3 separate regions of the Homo sapiens genome follow, and regions 2 and 3 are each linked to region 1. The links are contacts of gene promoters, found by promoter capture Hi-C in blood cells and fetal thymus (Javierre and others, 2016). All regions are on one chromosome and are shown on one strand. Each heading gives the region's core, a stretch centred on a gene start or on the middle of the fragment in contact. The rest is flanking DNA. Distances are from core to core; before and after follow the strand shown. Region 1 holds the start of UBE2Z (ubiquitin conjugating enzyme E2 Z). Region 2 holds the start of CDC27 (cell division cycle 27). Region 3 holds the start of MRPL10 (mitochondrial ribosomal protein L10).

Evidence for each region. Contacts are between HindIII fragments. The CHiCAGO score rates a contact against its expected background, and 5 or more counts as called.
Region 2: a contact is called between the fragment with the promoter of CDC27 here and the fragment with the promoter of UBE2Z in region 1, in 1 of 17 cell types (neutrophils). The highest score is 10.0, in neutrophils.
Region 3: a contact is called between the fragment with the promoter of MRPL10 here and the fragment with the promoter of UBE2Z in region 1, in 1 of 17 cell types (non-activated CD4 T cells). The highest score is 8.7, in non-activated CD4 T cells.

The regions. Positions count from the first base shown.
Region 1 is chr17:48,906,465-48,911,228 of GRCh38, reverse strand. It overlaps UBE2Z (ubiquitin conjugating enzyme E2 Z), which reads right to left and starts at 2,822. Exons shown (of 7, transcript NM_023079.5): 1 at 2,409-2,822; 2 at 349-421. The coding sequence starts at 2,725. It overlaps LOC105371814 (a long non-coding RNA gene), which reads left to right and starts at 2,246. Exons shown (of 4, transcript NR_135674.1): 1 at 2,246-2,290. RefSeq lists enhancers at 1,041-1,090, 1,111-1,160 and silencers at 2,034-2,163, 2,434-2,683. The HindIII fragment of the contact is 3,469 bases long and covers 1-3,394 here.
Region 2 is chr17:47,186,674-47,191,437 of GRCh38, reverse strand. CDC27 (cell division cycle 27) reads left to right here and starts at 2,143. Exons shown (of 19, transcript NM_001256.6): 1 at 2,143-2,292. The coding sequence starts at 2,266. It also overlaps a transcript of MYL4 not described here. RefSeq lists enhancers at 2,219-2,408, 1,939-2,535 and a silencer at 2,569-2,618. The HindIII fragment of the contact is 9,297 bases long and covers 1-4,764 here.
Region 3 is chr17:47,829,026-47,833,789 of GRCh38, reverse strand. It overlaps MRPL10 (mitochondrial ribosomal protein L10), which reads left to right and starts at 2,249. Exons shown (of 5, transcript NM_145255.4): 1 at 2,249-2,330. The coding sequence starts at 2,279. It overlaps LRRC46 (leucine rich repeat containing 46), which reads right to left and starts at 2,120. Exons shown (of 8, transcript NM_033413.4): 1 at 1,791-2,120; 2 at 1,585-1,690. The coding sequence starts at 1,800. RefSeq lists silencers at 2,084-2,243, 2,484-2,543 and enhancers at 2,006-2,835, 2,836-3,667. The HindIII fragment of the contact is 9,003 bases long and covers 1-4,764 here.

The sequences.
Region 1 (4,764 bases), core at 1,573-4,072:
GGAAGAGCTGGGTAGTACAATGGATAGGGTGACCATATAATTTATTATCCAAACAGGAGCATTTTTGAGAGTGAAAGAATGCCCTATAAATAGTCAAGCTGCGACAACAGACATGAACTGGGATTTTCCAAGCCAATCAGTACCTATGGGGTACACTAATAACAGACACCTCTTCAAAGTGCTGCTCCACCTCACTATGTGACCTTGGACAAGCCACTTACTCTCCTGGGGTCTTGATTTCTTCATCTGTGTAATCGGAGAGGTGAGCTGAATAATCTCTTTTAGGCTTTTGCAACCTTATGGCCCCCAATTTCCCAAAACCCCCCAAACCCCCATCAAGTTACATACCTTAGTCATGTCAACAGTATCAGGTACAACGAACATTCCTGGAGGAGGCTCCTTATAAATGGACATGATATCCCTGTATAACACCAAGAGGAGGTGGGGGAAGGAGTGAGGAAGAGGGGGAAAGGGGGAATCCCTTGAGCAGGACAGTTGTTATCACCTCAATGAGGCCAGGGTTTGAGAAAGTGGTGCTTGGTACCGCAAGTGTTTGTACTGTCTTGTTGGCTGAGAAATCTCAGCTGAGTACTTGTCAGGCAGGCAGAGAGCAAATTATTATCAAAAGGGCATTGTTTCCTCAGGGGGAGGGGAGGGAGAGAGGAAAAAAATCAGAGATCCCAATGGCATCAAATGTCAGCCTGGAAAAGCCACTTTCCACTTACTCTCACTTCCTCCCACATGGCAATTCATTCACTCCCCACCTCCATGATTCCCAGGTACTACGACTGAATGCTAAATGAAGATTTTTTAGTAACTGGAAAGGCATCATCAACTCCACTAAAAAACTAATTCTATAAACTATACAGTGGACCTTTATTGGTAAGGGGATTGTATGAAGCAAGCCAGCCAGCAGAGAGTAAGACTATCATGGTGGCCTTCTTGCCCAGGGGTGTCTCAGGGTAGAGATCTCTTCAGGCTGGGGAGGGATCCTCAGAAATTGCTAAGAATCTCCCATCTGGAAGATGACATGTGGACTTCCATAGGAGATAAGATTTCTGACTCATATCTCACCAACTGGAATGGATCAGTTGAGAGCAAGGGGCTAAAGAACATTCTAGGTGGCGAAAAGCCTAGGGACTTGCTAGGGTGGGTAGGGACATAAAAAGGGCAAATAGGCGACAAAGCAGAGGAAAGCATTGGCCAAACTCAAAGGTATGTCAGAATTGGATGACTGAAATGGCTGGAGGAGGAAAAGAGTTGAGTGCTGAGTTTCAGTTAGAGGTGGCAATCCCTCCACAGTTGACCTCCTGTGTCAGGCACTGTGCCAGGTACTTTACACACATTATATTAATTTTTATTACAACCTTGAAAAGTAGACACAGAGACATCTGAAAGGACGTGGAACATGGGGAATAAGAACTAAACGAAGATGCTTGTGATGGGGGCATGGGGAGAAGTCAAACAGGTTTCAGGATTAATAGCTAAAGAGCACTGCCCTTTTCTTATGCGATAGGTACTATTCTATGTGCTTCTGGAAAACATCATCTACTAAATGATAGGATCTAAGATCAGTCACCCAAGAAATAAGCACAGAAAGGACTTAGGCCTTTGTTCCTATATTTGATGAGTATATTTGCTTCATAGAAGTAAAACAGACGACCCGGGGAGGGTGGGGGGTGGGGGGAGGGAAATTACAAGAAAGAAGCTCCTGAGTGGGATATTACAATCCAGAGTGGCACTGGGGAATTGGGGGGAGGTAGCCTGTGTTTCTGGAAGAGGCGTAAGAGTGGACAGCTTTGGGACACTGGAAAAGGGGTTCAAGGAAAGATTGGGGCGAGGGAAGCGATCTAGACCTGGGAAAAGACTGTGTGGAGGGAATCTGAGAAAAACGGAGGATAAAAAGAAAGGTTGGCTCGAGTCAGAGGCATGGCAAAGGAAGCTGAGTTCGTCTGTGTTAGGAACGGGGCTCCAGAGGAGAAGAGAGGGGACCGATGGGTGGGGCCTGCGGGCAGCATCTAGCAAGGTTGGGGTGGGGAAGGGGAAATAGGGGCGGCGCCGAAGGCGGGAGGGGGCGTTACTGAAGCGCTAAAGGGTCGGGTTTCCACCCGGAGGTGGGAGGTGTGGGGGAGGGTGGCCGGAATGGAGACGGAGGGCTCACGGGAGGTTGTCGAGGGGCGGGGTCGGATCTGGGCACACGAGGCGGGGGTTGGTGCTTGCGGGTCTGAGGGTGGGGGGAGAAGGGAGTTGGATCCCGACGCCCGGAGCTGGCAAGATTTGGGCCGTGGAGGTGGGCCGCCGCGAGGGCAGCGCAGTGGGTGGGGGGTGAGTTGTAGTGGGAGAGGGTGGGGGGCGGGGAAGGTCGAGCCCCGGAGCTCGGGGCTGGGGGAGGAAAAACCCCGGCTCACCGCTTGATCCGGAGTAGACACTGCGGCGCGGTGCGCTCGCCGTCCCAGTCGGAGCTGAGCGTGGGGTCCCAGTGGCTAAGCAGCGCGGCCCCGTGGGCAGCGGCTGAGGGCGGGAGCCCGGGCAGCGGAGCCAGGCCGCTCCCCGGGCCCCCGGCCCCGCCCGCTGCCGCCGCCGCCGCCCACACATCCGGCAGGAAAGGCGGCCCGAACCCGCCGCCGCTGCCGCTAACGCCAACAACACCAGCAACGCTGCTCGCCCCGGGGCCCGCCGCCCCGGCGCCCGCCGTTGCCGCCTCCTCAGTCGGACTCTCCGCCATCGCTGCTTCGCTTCCGGGACTACTCGGCAGCACGTCCGCCGACCAGAGCGGCCGCTGCTCCCGCCCGCTCCCGCACCACCGAGAACCGGGCCAGAGTGTCCCCACCCCCTCCGCTTCCACAGCCCAGACGGTGCTGGCTCCGCCCACCCCCGCCCCAACCAGCGAGAGGCGCTCTGCAAGAGCGTCCACCTACGGTCCTCCAGGACGGGAGGGGTGGGAACTAGCAGGCCGTGATGGTTCTGGGCTCGTGTGGGTCCTGCGCTGTGCGGAAGTAGCGGAGAGCCCAATTCAAGTGTTGAAAGGGGAGAAGAGAGGAGGGAGTGGGGGAGGAAGGGCCATATCATTCCCGTTAATGGCGGCGACCCTCAGACGTCTGCATGGTTAGGATTGGGGATCCAGCATCCTCATGGGAAGCTCAGTAGAGAAGTTGACTCGCTTTGGGCCCCTTCTCTCGGAAAGGCTCTGCGATTGATCCCTCCTGCACACTTGTGCACCTAGGGCAGGGTACCATTGCCCTTGCCTGCAACAGGACCAAGAGAGAACTCAACTTGGAATGAAAAGCTACCTCTTTTAGAGTTTATTCAACATATATTTATGAAGGGCCTACTAAATGCCAGTCACTGTTGCTAGTTGTTGCCATGGGGATAATGAAACAGAACTAGAGAAGCTTGGTGAAAGGAAGAAACATCAGGCCTCCTGACTCCAAGCTTAGTACTTTTTCTTCCCACAAATCTTGGAATATACAGGAATCGAGGTACTGTGAGTGTAAACCCTGAGGATTCTTTGGGTCTTTCCTAAAATGTTTAAAGTGAAAAATAATCTGCCAGGCTCGGTGGCTCACGCCTGTAATCCCAGCACTTTGGGAGGCCGAGGTGGGCGAATCACGAGGTTAGGAGTTCGAGACCAGCCTAACATGGTGAAACCCCGCCTCTATTAAAAATACAAAAATTAGCCGGGCGTGGTGGCGTGCACCTGTAGTCCCAGCTACTCAGGAGGCTTAGGCAGGTGGATCACTTGAACCCGGGAGGCGGAGTTTGCAGTGAGTTGAGATCACGCCACTGCACTCCAGCCTGGGCGACAGAGCCAGACTCCGTCTCAAAAAAAAAAAAAAAAATTCCTATGGACTAAGAATGACAGGGGCCTTCCTAAAAAACTGTTTTTCCTTGCCGGGCGCGGTGGCTCATGCCTGTAATCCCAGCACTTTGGGAGGCTGAGGCGGGCGGATCACTAGGTCAGGAGATCAAGACCATCCTGGCTAACACTGTGAAACCCCGTCTCTACTAAAAATACAAAAAATTAGCCGGGCGTGGTGGCGGGCGCCTGTAGTCCCAGCTACTCGGAAGGCTGAGGCAGGAGAATGGCGTGAACCCGGGAGGCGGAGCTTGCAGTGGGCGGAGATCGTGCCACTGCACTCCAGCCTGGGCGACAGAGCAAGACTCCGTCTCAAAACAAAAACAAAAACTTTTTTCCCTAGCAAAAATATAGGATCAATATTAACTGGAAACCAGTGGGGCCAGATGTATTTCAGACTTTGGAATGACACACCAAGCAAGGAGTGGGGCAGCGCCGGGTAGCCAAACCTATTGACATTTCTGCATCAAAGTGTATGAACATTCGTACCAAGTCAAATGAATAGCCTCACTTTGGATGTTTTGCCACCAAGTTTGGTTTTTTAAAAAAGAAGTCTGGGCCGGGCACGGTGGCTCACGTCTGTAATCCCAACAATTTGGGAGGCCGAGGTGGGTGGATCACCTGAGGTAAGGAGTTCGAGACCAGCTTGACCAATATGGTGAAACCCCGTCTCTACTAAAAATACAAAAATTAGCCGGGTGTGTTGGCAGGCGCCTGTAGTCCCAACTACTCAGGAGGCTGAGACAGAAGAATCACTTGAACCCGGGAAGGAGAAGTTGCAGTGAGCCGAGACTGAGTCACTGCACTCCATCCTGGGTAAAAGAGTGAGACTCCGTCTCAAAAAAAAGAGTCTGGCTTTAGAGTTTTTTTGTTTTTTGTTTTTTGTTTTTAAAGAGGGAATCTTGCTC
Region 2 (4,764 bases), core at 894-3,393, 1.7 Mb after region 1:
AGATAATAATAGTCCAACTGCATTCTGAATTATTCAGAATAAATCTGGAGTACTGTGTTCAGTTGAAAGGGTCACATTTTAAGAGTGATAGCTCTTACTTATCCCTTTCTTTCCATTCCCAATCTTAGATACTCTCATCTCATATCTAGCGTGGTAGATTGTTTCCAAAGATGACCCAAAAACTCCTCCCATGGCACACGCCCTTTGTGGTGTTACTTTGCCACTCTTCCCATTAAGAAGTAGACTATTCCTCCTGGTGAATCCAGGGTGGCTCTGAGTCTTACTCTGACCAACAAGAAGTGATGCTCACAGGCCTAGGCCTAAGGGACCTCACAGCTTCTATTTTTGCGCACTTTGTTGTCAACCACCAAGTCAAGAAGCTGGAGCTAAACTACTGACTCATAAGAGGCCAGTGTGAAAAGAGAGGTCATGCAGAGAAGAAATGAAGGACCCAGCCAATAGCTACCACTGACACCCTAGACATGTGAGTGAAGCCATCTTGAATCTTTCAGCCCTAGCCAAGCCAGTGCTGGTGATGTTCTTCTATATCTGTGTGACTGTCCAATATGGCAGTCACTAGCCACATACAGGGCTACTGAATCCTTGGAATGTGGCTAGGGCATCTGAAGAACTTCATTTTTAATTTCATTTTAACTTAAACTTTAAATAGCTAATGGCTACTTTCCAGGCCAGTGTAAAAGTCTGTTACCACTCAAGTCATCCAGCATAATCCCGCTAAAGCAACTGGGCACAGGGCAGCCAAAAATCATCTTAGCACCTGCCCTTTAGGGGCTATAAGTATATATACAGTGACAAGACAAGGCGGTGGAGAAGGATGCAGTGTAGCTCTGTCAGCCTTGTTTTTAAAAATGAAAGAAAAAATATCTCCCTCTAACATCACCCAAAGGGAAATTTCCAAGCAATGGAATATATCATGATTCTCACATCTAGCCTAGAGAGCTCCTGACTAGAAAAGTAACTTTCAAAAACTGTTTCCTCATCTGCTGAAAAACAAAATTTAAACAGTCCCCTGGTTCACTCTTTTTGGGGGGAGAAGGGGAGCAGAAAGGAAATATGAGAGAGTCTACATTGCATGCTAGACACGGCCACATTTATAATACATCGAATTCTCTTAATCCTTTTTTTTCAAACTAAGCGAACATAAGTTCAGAGAGGTAATTTGCCAAGGACCTATGACTAGTTAGTGCTAAAGATAAAATTCAAAACCAGGCCTCTGAATTTCCGACCCCCTACTCTTCCCACCACAGCGGAATGCCTCACCTATCAAAAATAAAAATTTCTAATGGCCTATTGAGCTTTTCCATGATCTCTTCACCTAAGTAACTATTTCCAATTAATGCCTTCTTAGCAGACTGATCCCATTTTTCCTCCCTTCACTTTCCTATACTTCTTTTTCCTCTAATTTTACCCATCCTTCAAACTCCATTTTAAACTTTTTTTTCCTTCCATAGAACTTTCCTTATCTTATCACAATTGCCCTCTCTGAATTTTTATATTACTTATAATAGGCACCATATAATATAGCGTTCTCTGTTACACTGCTTTTCCCTTAAATAGACCTTAATCTCCTTGAAGACAGAAGCTATCCTATGTCTTTGGGGAGTGGCAATCTTTCCAAATTTCTTTAGCTTTCCCCCAGAGCCGTGAGTAGATACTTCTGGAATGGACGAATGATCTAAACTCAATAGACAAATACTTGTTGATTCATTAAAGACAGCCCCAAACTCTGCTGTTTCACCCTTTGCTTCATAATCTACAGCACACCAATTAATCCAAAAGGGCTGAGGGGCTAATCCACACTGCAGCCCCGCCACGTAACGCTACCCGCCCGCGCTGTCACGCCACGCCCAGCCTGCTGGTTGCAGATTTGGCGTAGCCCAACCCTGGGACGGCCGATTGGGCGTGGTGTGCGTGGCTGAAGGCGTGGCTGAGAAGAGAAACCTACGCTTTGGGTCAGACTCGGTAGCTTCCGGTAATCTTCGACAATTTCCGGCAACGGTTTTCTCTCTCGTCGACCAACCTCGGGTATTTCCGACTCCCTTCGGGCTTTTCCGTCTGGTTCCCGCTCGGCTTTCTCCACTTCGGGTATTCCCGTGTCCCGCTCGGAAGCACTCGGCAATCGCTCGGCCTCCCCCATCCCCCGGTAACGGTCGCTGGTGAGTTTAAATGAGCAGGGGCTGGCCGGGCCGGAGCCGCTACAGGGGGGGCCTGAGGCACTGCAGAAAGTGGGCCTGAGCCTCGAGGATGACGGTGCTGCAGGAACCCGTCCAGGTAATGATAACCTTCTTCTCTGGGGCTTGGCTGGCAGCCTCGGTCGGGAAGCAGCAGCGTAGGGCCACTCCGCGGCCTGGTGCGGCCTAGGCCCGGCTGCTTCTCCCGCCTCCCCTGCTGCCGTGTCCTGCCTATCTTTAGTCAGTTCGGAGGCCTTGCCCACAGCCTAAGCCGTGTTACCTCTGGCCCTACATTACTTCACCCTTAGCGTGAGCGGCTTCGGCGAAAATAACCGCCTTTCCCGTCCGAGCCAACGTCCGGCCAGCCTTTCCTGTCAGTCCAGGGGCCTGGCTTGACTGGGGGTGGGAGATGAGGGGCCGAAAATGCACCCCAAGCGCTCTCTTGCCTAAAAGATGATCGAGAAGCACATTTGATCGGAGCTTGTGTGATCTTCGTGACGGTAGGGCAAGTTTACGGAGGTTTTTTTTATTTTGTCTTGTATGAGAGGGTGGAGGGAGCGTAGGATCGGTCTTTTTAATACTAATTTCTATTTTGGTAACAGACTTCCTATCCCACGTTTCCTTTCTCGGTGAATTTCCCACCGGACAATGATGGTTTGAGAAGACAACTCCAAGCCTCAGTGCTGAGGCGCAAGCACCAATACCAGGGGAGGAGGTGGAAAGGGCACATTTGGGTTGTTTTCATCCTCTCTGATGGGGATCAGGAGCATTTTGTTGTGCATGTTTATAAGGCATTCAGGAAATGAAACACAAATAATGGTGTTTCTGTCCATTTCACTGCCTTTACACCAGGGTATGCTTTGACGCACAGTGCTGTGTTGCATTAAAGGAACCCTATTGGATTTTAAGTGTGTGATGCGGTGCCAAGTCATTTTCCCCCCTGACATCTGGAGAAACTGTATCTTTTGTGCCTTGGTAATGGACCAGGTCTGGGAGACTTCATCCCACTATATGATCTTTAACTTGATCAGAATTGACCTCTATCAACTGCTGTCATTGAGTCATGGACTTTATTTTGAAGTTATAAAGCAAACTGATTTTTAGAAATTCCTTCATATTGCCCTTAAAAGGCTTGAGGTATCAAACAGTAAATATTTTAATATATCACTACTTTCATATTTATTTCATTTTTCTAAACAGCATGAAATACTCATTTCTTCTAGTTTGGTTTTTTTCTCCAGCTGTTTACATATAGCAGCTATTAGTGTTTGAATTAATAAAACGTAAGATTATATCTTATGAAATTTACCTGTCTGTAAGTTGTATTAGTTTTTCTAGAGCTATTTCCATCCAAATTCTTTTTACCAGTATAGTTTCTTTTAAGATTTTTTTTTATTCTGGCTGTAGATGAGGTAATTATATATATATAATTTTTTAAGGCCTAACATGAACTTAAATAGATAAGCAGATTACTCAAGTTATTTAATTTCTGTTGCATATTCTTATAATTTTGTTTTAATAGTTAATGATTTTTTTTTTTTTGCCTTCTCTGGCCCCAGAAGTCTTCTAAAGTGATAAACTAGTTGCATTGATAGACTATAACCACCATTTAATAATAATTTCAGACTTTATAAAAGCATGGAAGGCCGGGCGTGGTGGCTTACACCTGAAATCCCAGCACTTTGGGAGGCTGAGGCGGGTGGATCACCTGAGGTCAGGAGTTCGAGACCTGCCTGGCCAACACAGTGAAACCCTGTCTCTACTAAAAATATAAAAAATTAGCCAGGCGTGGTGGTGGGCGCCTGTAATCCCAGCTACTTGGGAGGCTGAGGCAGGAGAATTGCCTGAACCCAGGAGATGGAGTTTGCAGTGAGCCGACATGGTCCCGCTGCACTCCAGCCTGGGCGACAGAGTGAGACTCCATCTCAAAATAAATAAATAAATAAAAAATAAAAGCATGGAAAAGAAAAGGAATATGTAGCCTGTTTCTAGATAGTACCCATCAGGTTTCCTGTTTGTCCTTAAAGTACTCTGAGCAGTAATACACTTTGATATTTTTAAGGCTTAAATGTCAAATTTGCTTCTTTTTCATAGCAGCATTGTCCATTAGATTTTTGAGATAGTGGTAGAAAGTTTTAGGATATGACTAGGTGAAAATTTTGGTTGTATAGTATAAGAAGCCATTCAAGAATGGATTTGGAACAGTGAGAAGAACAAGCAACTTTGGCTACAATGATAAAGATCAATGATCAGGGATAGTGCTGCAAATGGGAAAGAATTAGGAAGAGAATAAAAATAGGACAGATATATAAGATACTGTCTTTATTAAAAAAAAAACTATGATGACAGATTGCGTGTATTTGGAAAGCAATGAGAGTAAGTTGGAAAATTGTTCTTTCTTGGAATGCCTCAGAGTTGATGGTATTACTAGGCATAGGAAAAAGTTCACAGAAAATATGAAGAACTGTTTTCTGCATTTTTTTTTCTTTAAAGTTTTAATGTAGAATGGCCAGTCCGATATACCATATATGCCTAAATTAAAACTCCGTCTCAAATTACTACCTCTCAGAAG
Region 3 (4,764 bases), core at 1,000-3,499, 1.1 Mb after region 1:
GACAGAGCAAGACCCTATGTCATAAAAAAAAAAAAAAAAGAGGCTGGGCGAGGTGGCTCACTGTAATCCCAGCACTTTGGGAGGTCGAGGTGGGTGGATTGCCTGAGGTCAGGAGTTCAAGACCAGCCTGGCTAACATGGTGAAACCCCATCTCTACTAAAAATACAAAAAAAATTAGCCGGGTGTGGTGGCGCACACCTGTAGTCCCAGCTACTCGGGAGGCTGAGGCTGGAGAATCGCTTCAACTCAGGAGGCAGACGTTGCAGTGAGCCGAGATCACACCATTGCACTCCAGCCTGCGCAACAGAGTGAGACTCCGTCTCAAAAAAAAAAAAAAAAAATAGGAAGAAGGCCAAACATCTATGACAAGTGGATAACAGAGGCAAGTACAGGGGAAAGGAAGAAGGAGGAGGAAGAAGGGAAAGAAGGAGGAAGAGGAAGAAGAAAGAAAGAAAGAAAGAATAAGGCCAAACATCCCTGACAAGTGGATAACAGAAGCAAGTACAGGGGACAAAGGGAGTACATAGGCTGTGCACTAAATTCACAGTAGGAGGAATCAGGGAATGCTTCCTAGAGGAGGTGACAGATGAGTAGGCATTAGCCATGAAGGTGGGGGGATATGGGGAGAAGGCATTTCAAGCAGAAGGAATAGTACATGCTAATACAGCCCTTCCGAAACTCCAATATGCCCATGCAGATTCTAATTCAGTAGATCGGGTGGAGGGGCTGAGATGCTCCACTTCTAACAAGCCCCCTGTGATGCCAATGCTGCTGTCCTACCCCTGCACCCCCTCCCATCCACACATACTCTGAGTAGTAAGGTACTAAGGTGTGAGTACACAGTGTGGGAAATTGTACACTTGTGGAGAGTGGCCAGAAATAAGGCTGAAAAGCAGAAGTCAACTCATGCTTAGGCATTGGGATTTATTTGGGAGGAAGTTTCTATCAGTGAATGCCTGATTAGATTTGTTATTTAAAAGGATCACTTTGGCTACTCAGGAGGCTGAAGTGGGAGGATTGTTTGAGGAGTTCAAGACCAGTCTGGCCAACAGAGCAAGACCCCATCTCTAAAAAAGTAATTAAAAATACTTTACTTTTTGTTTGTTTTAGAAATAGGGTCTCACCCTGTTGCCCAGGCTGGCATGCAATGGCATGATCATAGCTTACTGCAGCCACAGGTACCTGGGTTCAAGTGATCCTCCTGTCTCAGCCACCTAGGACTACAGGTGTGCACCACCATGCTCAGCTAGTTTATTTTTATTTTTTAGAGATAGGATTCTGTCTCTATTGCCCAGGCTGGTCTCAAACTCCTGGGCTCAAGTGATCCTCCTGCCTCAGCCTCCCAAAGTGGTGGGTGTGTAGGAGAGAGGTGAACACGGCCTTATCTAAGACAGTTGAGTGAGGATGGTGAAAAAGAAATGGAATTATTTTGAAGAAGGGAAAATCAGCTGGGCATTACCACTGATTGAATGTGTGGAGTAAGGAGAGAAACAAAGATCAGTTGACAAATCAGTACACGTCAGGGACCTGGTCATCCTGAGTGTTTCAGCCTTCTAGCACCCCTTTTCTCCCCCATGCACTCACATCTTCTCTGACAGTTCCCCATCTTCAGGGAAAGTCAAGTTCCGCTTAGTGATAAGGGCTTCAGTGATGCAGACGCCCCCTTCCTCTGGACCCTGGGCTGACTTCCCTGTGAAAAGATGAGTCCAACTGTGACACTTCCTCACTCTTGGAGGCCTTACCCCGCTGTTTTCCAACTGCTCTACCCACCGTCCCACCTCCCTACTCACCTCCAGACATGATCTAAAATAAAAGGCTGCTGGTCTGAGGCGGGAGAGGAACGAAAAGAGAGGTCTTGGCGGCCCCTAAGGATGGCAGAACTCAGGATGGCAGGAGGAGAGAGAAACTCAGAGACTTAGGAGAGGAGGAAAGGGGGTTGATTCAGAGAAAATTGCTGGGGTGAGGTCGAAGAAAACAGTAAATTGATGTGAAGGGTCTGGAGTTTGAGGGGTGTGGAGGGGCTTTGCTGGCAGCAAGCTGGGGTGTTGTGGGCAGGAATGGTTGAGAAAGGAGCAGTTCCTAGGAAGCCGGAGTCGTTGCTAAGAGACTGGACGCCGAGTGGGGAGGTAAAGGCGGGCTCCGTTGGCCCGGCCTAGCGCATGCGTCTTACGGCTACAGCCGGCGGGTACGCCCACTGCTTCCGGCCCCGGGGTTCGCTACCCCACAATCCTTAGCTCTTTCCGTCTCCACTCGGCTTCCGTCCATTCTTCCGGTGGAGATGGCTGCGGCCGTGGCGGGGATGCTGCGAGGGGGTCTCCTGCCCCAGGCGGGTAAGGAGTGGCCCAGGTCCTCACGGCGTGTCTTGCGGCCGCTCTCTAGTCCTCATCTGCCCTCCTCTACTACTGATTCTTCCCATAATCTCTGACCCCAGCTAGATCGCTGGCCTCCTTACCCCGTCCAGTTCCTTGTGACTCGACTGGTAATCACAGCAACAACGTCCAGATGTTGTCTGTCTCCAGCGTTTCTTTTGCCTGGACCACTCCTCGCCCAGACCTTTGCATTATGTCTCCATCTTAATGTGTCAGTCTAAATGTCACCTCAGGTCTTCCCTTGACTCCTTAGCCCCGTCGCAATCTGTAATTTTGCATTTGTTTAGTTGCTTGTTTCCTCTATTAAACTCCGCAAGGGCAGAACCATGTTCATTCAGCATAGCCAGCAGGTGGCATGGTGCTGGATGTTAGTAAGCGTGCGGTAGATATTTGTTTAGTGAATGGATTTGAGCACTTAATATAGGCCAGGCACTGTGATAACTATTTTTATATGTGTTAGCTCATTTAAATCTTTTAAATCATTTAAATCTAAAGCACCCTGTGAGAAAGACATTCGCATCTCCTCTTTACAGACGCAGCAACTGAAGTTCAGACCAGTTGGGTGGCCAAGGTCACAGCTAGTAATTGGCGGAAGAGAGATTAAAATCCAGTTTCGGCTGGGCGCGGTGGCTCACGCTTGTAATCCCAGCACTTTGGGAGGCTGAGGCGGAGGGAACACCTGAGGTCAAGAATTTGAGACCAGCTTGGCCAACATGGCGAAACCCCAACTCTACTAAAAATACAAAAATGAGCCGGGTGTGGTGGCGCGTGCCTGTAGTCCCCGCTACTCAGGAGGCTGAGGCGTGAGAATCGCTTACACCCAGGAGGCAGAGGTTGCAGTGGGCCGAGATCGCATTGCTGCACTCCAGCCTGGGCAACAGAGCGAGACTCCATCTCAAAAAAAAAAAAAATCCAGTTTAATTTGATTCCAAAGCCTGCCTGCAGTCTTAACAGTTAGGTTTTGTGGCTGCTGGCAATAAGACCTCTTACCCCAGCAAATATCCATACTCTCTGACTGTTAGAGCCGCCTTCTATCTGGACCTTTTTCTGAGGTCACATCCCAGTCTTGGAAATGACTGAAAGTGGGAAGTTCTAGTCTTGGCCCTTGTGTTGAGGATTAAGTGGTCACTTTGTCTCAGGGCTTTTGAGTGCCTCCCTTGTTTTCTGTGGGGTGCTCTGTAGCATTATCTGTAAACAGGAAGAGAGGAGGAAAGAGAAACTTGTCTGAGAGCTGTGAGAATGGTGTAACATTTTTTTCTCCTCTTCAAATCATAGGACAGGGTGTCAGAGCAGCGGTTAGAGTGGTGGTTTTCAAACTTTAGCATGCGTCAGCATCACCAGGAGGGCTTGTTAGAACACTATTTGTGACCCGTCTTGGTAACATAGTGAAACCTGGTCTCTACAAAACAAAACAAACAAAAAACACTATTTGCTAGGCTCCACCCCAGAATTGCTGATTCAGTAGGTCTAGGCAGGGCCTGAGAATTTATGTTTATTTTTCTTTCTTTCTTTCTTTTTTTTTTTTTGAGACAGTCTTGCTCTGTCACCCAGGCCGGAGTGCCGGAGTGCAATGGCACAATCTCGGCTCACTGCAACCTCTGCCTCTTGGGTTCAAGCAATTCTCATGGCTCAGCCACCTGAGTAGCTGGGACTACAGGTGTGTGCCACCACGCCTGGCTAATTTTTGTAGTTTAGTTAGAGACGGGGTTTCACCATGTTGGCCAGGTTGGTCTTGAATTCCTGACCTCAAGTGAGCTGCCCACCTTGGCCTCCCAAAGTGTTGGGATTACAGGCGTGAGCCACCACACCCAGCAAAATTTCTAACAAGCTCTCAAATGATGCTGATGTTGCTGGTTGGGGTGGAGGTGGGGCATACCTTGAGAGCCACTAGATTAGACCAGGGGTTGGCGTATTATGGCAGGGCCAGTCACTGTGTTTTATAAAATTCTATTGGTACATAGTTTCTGCTGTCTCTTTAAATATTGTCTGTGGCTGCTTTTGGCAGAGTTGAGCATTAGAGACAGATTACATGGGCCCCAAACTTAAAATATTTACTGTTTGACCATTTTAAGAAAAAGTTTATTTAACCTTATCCCCTTTTTCTTTCTCTCTCTCTCTCTCTCTTTCCTTCCTTCCTTCCTTCCTTCTTTTTTTTTCTGAGACGGAGTCTTACTCTGTGCCCAGGCTAGAGTGCAGTGGCATGATCTCGGCTCACTGCAACCTCCACCTCCCGGGTTCAAGCGATTCTCCTGCCTCAGCCTCTCAAGTAGCTGGGATTACAGGTATACACCACCACACCTGGCTAATTTTTGTATTTTTAGTAGAGATGGGGTTTCACTGTGTTGGCCAGGCTGGTCTCAAACTCCTGACCTCAAGTGATCTCGCCCGCTTCGGC